3 separate regions of the Homo sapiens genome follow, and regions 1 and 3 are each linked to region 2. The links are contacts of gene promoters, found by promoter capture Hi-C in human tissues and cell types (Jung and others, 2019). All regions are on one chromosome and are shown on one strand. Each heading gives the region's core, a stretch centred on a gene start or on the middle of the fragment in contact. The rest is flanking DNA. Distances are from core to core; before and after follow the strand shown.

Region 1 (2,700 bases), core at 143-2,642, 1.9 Mb after region 2:
TCATTTGTTAATATTTTATAATGAATTAGAGGTCAGTCAAAAGTCCCTTTCTATAATAAATCTTAAAGTAGACAAGTAGAATGCAAATGATTTACACTTTCAATGATCAATCATTTCAAGAATCTCTCTACGAACTGAGTAAACCATCTGTGACTCAGGCCTCCCTATCATGTTTTTTAAGCTGACCCACTTCTCCATCACTCACCATGGTTCGAAAAATCTCACTTCTAAGGGTGTAGCAAGAACCGCTCTGTGCCAGCGCATAGTTTGAATCCAATAGGGTAAAAGGGTAATGTAAACAGCACTTTAAAAGGACACCAGTTTTTATTTAAAATGACCCACTGCCTCTAAAAAGAGAGCATCAACACCGGCCTTCACCTGAAGCAATCCTTTTCTCCAACAGAAGAGCAAATCAAGTCTGCAGGGTTCGGGGGCAAAGGGAAAGGATTAAGAAATCCGATCAAGTGTGAAAATGCGTGGTGCATCGAGTTTTGGAGATCAAATACCAGCTTTGCAAACAGGATACGGCCAGGTCAGCGGGAGCCCGGTTCAGGGGATCGGCCCTGCTCTGAAGAGCTCTAGGGACAGGCGAGGCGGTGCAAAGCCCAGTATCCCCAGCAGGGGCCGGGCCCGGGACCCCCTCGGCGCCAGAACTTTGCGCAGTTCGCCGCCTGCGGCCCCGACACCATCGGGGCACCTCCACGCCGCTCCACCCACGTCTTTGCCCATTCTTTTCGGGTGGCGGCTGCGGAGAGGGAGTCTGAAGGGACTTAACAAGGATGGCAGGGAGCAGAGGAGGGCGACCTCCTACCCCAGGCTGCGGCCGCCACAAAGGGAAGGGCGTAGCGCCTCTCCTCGGCGCCCACCGGAGCCACCCGCGGGCGAGGGCAACAGGCGCCTCCTGGGCCAGGCCGCCGGCGGGGATGGGCGAGGCTGGCCGGGGGCGCGCGGCAAGTGACAGTAGCGTCTCCCCGCCCGGGCCCCAGCCTCCCCGCCCACCCCGGGCCTCGCCTCCCCGCGCACTGCACTCTCCCGCGAGCCGCGCGCCCCGGACCTCACCATGGGCTCCGCGCCACGGAGAAGCCATCGCGGGGCGGAGCGGCCGAAGAACCCCCAGTCCTGGGAGCCACCCCCGAACGGGAGACCGTGGCGCGCGCGGTCCCCGCCCTGTCGCGCCCGGTGCGCCAGCGCGCCGCCCCTACCCTTTGGCGTGCTCCGTCTCCTCCTCATTGTCCCCGTCTATCCCGCACGTGTCCTGGTCGTCCAGTTCCAGGCTCTGCTGGCTGGCCGCAGACTCGCTGTCCTCCGCCATCGCGGCGGCGCTGGCTGGGGAGGCGGTGCTCGGGGCCGGGCCGGAGCGGCCGCAGCTCCCTCTAGTGCCTCCCGCCGTACTGCTTGGAGTCGGAGCCCGGGCGCTACGCCCCGCCCCGCCCCGCCCGCGCCCCGTCCCGCCCTCCGTCCCGCCCCCTCCCCGCCCTCCGTCCCGCCCCGCCCTCCATCCCCGCCCCTCACCGTCCGCGCCCAGCCCGCCGGCCCCGCCCTGCCCGCCGGCCCCGCCCTGCCCCACGGGCTTGAACCCCGCCCACCTCTTCGTCCCTCCCCACCAAGCCCCGCCTCTCCCCGTCCCGCCGGCTTCAATCCAGCTCTCTAACCCCGCCCGCCTCTGAGACCCCTCCCCTCCAGCCCCGCCTTTCCCCACCCTGCCGGCTTCAAACCCGCCCTCTAACCCCGCCCACCGCCGCAGCCCCTCCCAGATGGCCCCGCCCCTCCCCGCCCCGCCAGCTCCAACCCTGCTCACCCTGGCCAGCCCTGCACAGGGCCGAGTCCTGTACATCCAGGCCTGCGCGGTGCCTCTGCCTGGGGCTCGGCTCTCAAAGCTGCAAACGTGCAGACTTGACATCCTGAGTGGCGGCATTTTTGGAACACAGGCCATGCGATTTTACTTCTGGACGAATTAGGGAGCGCTCCCAGCCCGTGCAGGGGTTTTTCCCACTCAGGAGTAGGCACTCAGGGATGGGGCTTTCCAGAAACTCTTCCCGCCCCTCCACATACATGTTAACAATTCCATTTCGCATCTATCTATCCATCTAATACATTATAAAATCAAATTCAAAGTCAAAAACAGTATTTCCAGCCCTCCACCGCCCTGTCCCAACCAGGCTTGCAGCACTAAAACTCTTGACAGAAATTTTTGAGCTACCCCTGCTTTCCCTGGACACTACTACGGACGGCTCAGACCAGAACAGACATCTTGAGGGACTTGGGGACGTGTCCACGATGCTGGGGGATTGGACAGTTTCAGGTAGGCTACCCTGGCTTTCCCAAAGTCAAGGTCATGACCTAGATTTCCAAGCAAACGTGCACGGCCTTCTGTGCTGAAATTGTCCGCTGTCTCTCTCAGAAGAGGGAAGGGAGGCATTCTGTAGTACTGCCAAATAGAAGACCGGTGAAGTTCAGCCTCTCTTATTTGCTACTGCATTCTGTACAGAGCAGTCCTGTCCTTTGCTTTGCTGAGATGATCTTGTTCAAATGTGCTGCTAGGCCACCGGAAGTCTCCGCAGTGGTTTTGCAAAGATAATCATCAGAACCCGCTCAGTGAGGAAAATGAGACTTTAAAGAGCCACCTGAATTTTTTGGTGTGGGTCCTTTTTTTGCAGAAGATACTAGGAGCATTTTATGGCTTTTTTCCCCAAGGGAGAC
Region 2 (2,700 bases), core at 95-2,594:
CTACTACTACTACTACTACTACTACTACTACTACTACTACTACTGCTACTACTACTACTACTAATAATAATAATACAAATTACACTTGGGAGGCTGAGGCAGGGGAATGGCTTGAACCTGGGAGGCGGAGGTTGCAGTGGGCCGACATTGCAGAGTGCGGCACTGCACTCCAGCCTGACCACAGAGCAAGACTCCGTCTCAAAAATAATAATAATAATAATAATAATAATAATAATAATAATAATAACAACAATAACAACAACAACATAAATTCGCCTGGCATCGTGGCGCAACCCTGTAGTCCCAACTACTTAGGAGGCTGAGGTGGAAGGATCTCTTGAGCCCAGGAGTGAGCCGAGATCGTACCACTACTGCACTCCAGCCTGGGTGACAGAGTGAGGCCCTGTTTCAAAAAAAAAAAAAAACCAAAAAAGCAAAACCCTAGAAATTCCTTTTAAAGATCTCCTTTCTATCCGGTAACTGCAGAGAGTTGACATAGAATTGCATTGTTTCTTTAGCTTAATCGGTTACTTTCGGAATGTCACTCTCATCAATTAACATGTTATCCTTTCTTTCTCTCTGTTTCTCTCTTTTGGAACGCACTGGCCATCACGGCTCACTGTAACCCTGGACTCCTGGCCTTGGCCCCCAGAAGAGCCGAGACAACAGGCAAGGCGTGTGCCGCCGCGCCAGTCCTCACCCGCTGTCCTTCCCCAAATAGTGTCTTTATATAACTCAGTGGCAATGCCGTAGTCCAGCAGGGAGGCCGCCCTGGGCAGCGCCTGCCTGGCCAGCTCCTGCCCGGGAGGGCACCGTCCTCTCCCCTCCGGAGAGGTCCCGGTCACTGCCTGCCTGGGCCGGTTCCAGGCAGCCCTGCGCGCCTGTGCACCGTGCGCCTGTGATTGGACATCTCTGGGTCTCTGGACAGCTGCCGGGGTCACGCGCCGCCGGTGAAACGACGTCTCCACAAAGAGAGGAGCAGAGGCCCCCAGGGATCCCGGAGGGCAGGGCAACGCGGCAATTGCCCCGACCCCAGGGCGGCCGCGCGTGTCCTCGGGGGACGCAGCCTCTTCCCCGCTCCCCGGCTCCTGGAAGAGACGCGACCCAGGCGGGGACGCGGCGCTGAGCGAGGAGGCGCTGGGGCTGCGAAGCGTGCGACCCCGAGGCCTCCACCCGGACCAGGGCCACCACTCAGGCGGCGGCGCCGGCGCCGGATCCAGCCCGAGCCCCGCGCAGCCCAAAGGATACGACAGCCCCGGCCGAGGGGCGGCCGAGGTGGCCCAGAACAATCTGCAGACGGGCGGCGGCGCGAAGCTGCTCCATGGCTGCGGCGCGGGGAACCCCCACCCCTCCCGGCCTCTGCCCCATTTAGCCCAGCGGGCGGCTCCGCCTCCAGGCGCCGCCCCGGACTGGACGTAAGCGGGATTCCGGGCGGTGCCAGCTCGCGGGCCGGGCTGCTGGGGAGCCCTAGTCCGCTAGAGTCCGCGCGCCGGGCAACCGCCCGGGGCTGAAGTCCTCCCCACACCATGATCCTTCCGTCCTTTATTTTCTTTCTTTTTAAAAAGAAACAAGATCTTGCTCTGTCGCCCAGGCTGGAGTGCAGTGCGCGATCATAGCTCACTGCAGCCTTGAACTCTTGGGCTAATTTTTATTTTTTGTAGAGATGGGGTCTCGCTACGTTGCCCAGGTGGGTCTCAAACTCCCCCCGCCTCCCGTCTCGACCTCCCAAAGTGCTGGGACTACAGGCGTGAGTCATTACCCCTGCCCCGCACCCTGTTTCTGTTCCATCACCAGGACCCTCCCTGCCGCACCGAAGCTCGGGGGCCCAGTGACCAGGCCGAGGTCACACAGTGACAAGTGGCTGGGCTGGGACCTCACTCACTCTCCTAACGTCATGGCTTCCATCTGTTTAACCCTACGTGACTGCTCCTTCCACTGACAGCTGAAAGAATAAAATCTCCGATTTAAACAAAAAGTTTGCCGGGCGCGGTGGCTCACGCCTGTAATCCCAGCACTTTGGGAGGCCAAGGCAGGCGGATCACGGGGTCAGGAGTTCGAGACCAGCCTGGCCAACTTGGTGAAAACCCGTCTCTACTAAAGATACAAAAATTAGCTGAGTGTTGTGGCGCACGCCTGTAATCCCAGCTACTGGGGAGGCTGAGGCAAGAGAATCACTTGCAACCGGGAGGCGGAGGATGCAGTCAGCGAGATGGCGCCACTGCATTCCAGCCTGGGTGACAGGGCAAGACTCCGTCTCTAAACAAACAAACAAACAAACAAACAGGTTTTTAGCCGGGTGCGGTGGCTCACGCCCGTAACTCCAACACTTTGGGAGGCCGAGGCAGGAGGATCGCTTGAGCTCAGGATCGCTATAGATCGAAAGCAGCCTGGGTAACATAGTGAGAACACCTGATCTACAAAAAAATTAGCCGGGCGTCGTGGCGGGCGCCTGTAGTCCCAGCTACTCAGGAGGCTGAGGCAGGAGAACGGTGTAAACCCAGGAGGCGGACCTTGCAGTGAGCGAGATGGCGCCACCGCACTCCAGCCTGGGCGACAGAGCAAGACTCCGTCTCAAAAAAAATAAAAAATAAATCAATAAATTAAATAAATAAAAATTCCAGACATTGTATGAGGAAGCATTGCAAAACTTTCTGTTCTGTTAGCTGTTGCCTGTAGCCCCCAGTCATGTTCCCCACGCTT
Region 3 (2,700 bases), core at 153-2,652, 1.1 Mb before region 2:
CTCCTCCCGCCTCGGTGTCCCAAAGTGCTGGGATTACAGGCATGAGCCACTGGACCCACCTCCCCACTTACTTTTAAGTTTCAGCATGTATCAAAGTCATAGTTGCAGAGAAAGGATCGAGTAGTACTACAAGTTCTGTTATGAAAAGAGCAGGCCCTTATCCCATTTATTGTATATTATTATTTCCTCTTTCTTTATTCCTTCATTTTCGGACCTTGCCTGTCCGAAGGTCAAAGTCTTTTTTTCTTACCCACACACATGGTTGTTAATTCAGCTGTATATAGAATTATAGACCCAAAGCCAGTTGTCTATGAAACTGTAAGGCATTGCTTAGTTGTCTTACTTCTGGTGCTGCTGTTGAGAAGTCCAAAGCTATTCTTATTCTTGATCTTTTTGCCATGTGACCTGTCTTCCTCCTCTGGAAGCTTGTAGTTAGTCACTTTCATGTCGATGTTATTGTACTGGGAAGTCAAGTGGGTCCTTTCAATCTGGAAACTTCTTACTATGCTTCTTTACAGGGAATTTTTTTCTTGAACGACTTCACTGATGATTTCCTCCCCTGTGTTTTCTCTGTTGTTTCTTTTAAGAACTGTTACTTGGACCAGGCACAGTGGCTCACACCTGGAATCCTAGCCCTTTGGGGGACCAAGAGTCTGAGACCAGCCTGGGTAACATGGCAAAACCCTGTCTCCACAAAAATAAAAAATAAAAAAATTAGCCGGGTGTGGTGGTGGGCACCTGTAGTCCCAGCTACTCAGGAAGCTGAGGCAGGAGGGTCATTTGGACCCAGGAGTTGGGGGTTGCAGAGAGCCGAGATCACGCCACTGCACTCTTACGTTCCACGGTTCTCTAACCTACCCCACCTAACTTCGGCTTCAAAGAAAATACAGCCCACCCAGCATCAACTCTCTTCCCAACTGTCCTAAAGGAAAAAGTGAGTCTGCTCTTTGTTTCTTCTGGGACCCAAAGTGATCATACTACCCATCTGATCTTCAATTTGTCCCCAAGACAGCAAGCTTCCCTATTCTAAAATACAATCAATAACAAAACCAACTGTATGAATATTCATAAAGTGCGTTTACAAATCAAATATCTGATTGACTATCATAGGTAACCCTTGTGGCCAACCTGTGAAAGGTGAGATGATGTTTTAGGAAAGTGGCGGTGAGGCCGGGTGCGGTGGCTCACGCCTCACGCCTACAATCCCAGCACTTTGGGAGGCCAGGGCGGGTGGATCACGAGGTCAAGAGATGGAGACCATCCTGGCCAACATGGTGAAACCCTGTCTCTACTAAAAATACAAAAATTAGCTGGACGTGGTGGGGTGCGCCTGTAGCCCCAACTACAGGGAAGGCTGAGGGAGGAGAATGGCTTGAACCCAGGAGATGGAGGTTGCAGTGAGCTGAGATCGTGCCACTGCACTGCAGCCTGGCGACAGAGCAAGACTCCATCTAAAAAAAAAAAAAAAAAAAAAAAAGTGGTGGTGAGAGGGACAAAGACCCTCACTCCCCCGGACCTCATTTTCCAGTGAGGAGAAAGGAAAAACAGTGAGGAAGAACACAAAATTTATGTCAAGTGACTCAGCGTTTCATGAAGAAAGATTAAAAAGGATGAGAAGTGTGGGGAAGATGGGAAGAGTAATCTACACGGAGTGATCAGGCAAGGCCTGTTTAATTTGGTGACTTCTGAATGGAGACCTGAAAGCAATAAGGAAGTAAACCACGTAGAAGTTTAAATATTTAGAGACAGACATTAGCATATTGAAACCTGCAGCCCTACTAAGAAAACAGGCACTTATTCCTTTGAAAGTACCATAGATGATAATTTATTAGGTAAACTTTTTTTTTTGAGATGGAGTTTCGCTCTTGTTGCCCGGCTGGAGTGCAAAGGCATGATCTCGGCTCACTGCAACCTCTGCCTCACGGATTCAAGCGATTCTCCTGCCTCAGCCTCCCGAGTACCTGGGATTACAGGCTCCTACCACTGCACCCGGCTAATTTTTACATTTTTAGTAGAGATGGGGTTTTGCCATGTTGGGCAGGCTGGCCTCGAACTCCTGACCTCAGGTGATCCACCAGCCTCAGCCTCCCAAAGTGCTGGGATTACAGGCGTGAACCACCGTGCCTGGCCGCTAAAAGAGAGTATTTCTTTGGAATGCAATCAGCCTCAAAGGGAAACAGTATCGTGCAGCAATCCACTGATTCCGTGAATGACAAAAATGAGCTATTTCAAGAGCATATTCTTAACTATGAGATTCCCAAACATTTCAGAAGGACTGTAAAAGTACCTCAGAAATTTTTAGAAACAGAAAAGGAATGTTGTTTTTAGCACCATTTCAAAAGCAGAAGCCAAATAGTGCCATTCGGGGGCCAGTCACTGCCAGCAACACGCTGCAGAAAGAACGAGAAATGAGCTTTAAATTCCGTGCTTTGTAAGCCAGCGTCTCCGCCACTGCAACGGAGTTTGCCTTCACTGACTCAACGCTATTTCAAGATTTAAAAGCAAACTTTGATATAAATTTTATCCACTTCATTAGTTAGAATTTAAGGTAATTTGCATATTGCCAATATGTGTATGGTATGAAAAAGATACATGTACACGATGTTGAGTGTTCTACAATTTTTTTTTTTTTTTTTGAGACAGAGTCTTGCCTTGTCGCCCAGGCTGGAGTGCAGTGGCGCGATCTCCGCTCACTGCAAG

Evidence for each region. The method cuts DNA at HindIII sites, captures the fragments that hold promoters and counts their contacts. A contact is called where the count stands out against the background at its distance.
Region 1: a contact is called between the fragment with the promoter of NMT2 here and the fragment with the promoter of PHYH in region 2, in 1 of the 25 tissues and cell types used here (aorta).
Region 3: a fragment that was not itself captured here is called in contact with the fragment with the promoter of PHYH in region 2 in 2 of the 25 tissues and cell types used here (dorsolateral prefrontal cortex and lymphoblastoid cells).

The regions. Positions count from the first base shown.
Region 1 is chr10:15,167,301-15,170,000 of GRCh38, forward strand. NMT2 (N-myristoyltransferase 2) reads right to left here and starts at 1,393. Exons shown (of 12, transcript NM_004808.3): 1 at 1,203-1,393. The coding sequence starts at 1,312. RefSeq lists a silencer at 763-1,592. The HindIII fragment of the contact is 12,871 bases long and covers 1-2,700 here.
Region 2 is chr10:13,298,720-13,301,419 of GRCh38, forward strand. It overlaps PHYH (phytanoyl-CoA 2-hydroxylase), which reads right to left and starts at 1,345. Exons shown (of 9, transcript NM_006214.4): 1 at 1,249-1,345. The coding sequence starts at 1,323. LOC124902377 (a long non-coding RNA gene) reads left to right here and starts at 1,470. Exons shown (of 2, transcript XR_007062056.1): 1 at 1,470-1,687. RefSeq lists enhancers at 335-955, 1,532-1,671 and a silencer at 932-1,351. The HindIII fragment of the contact is 22,205 bases long and covers 1-2,700 here.
Region 3 is chr10:12,187,276-12,189,975 of GRCh38, forward strand. The region is part of intron 1 of NUDT5 (nudix hydrolase 5); the gene reads right to left. Among named protein-coding and RNA genes, the nearest start is that of NUDT5, 7.3 kb to the right of the region's middle. The HindIII fragment of the contact is 4,727 bases long and covers 1-2,700 here.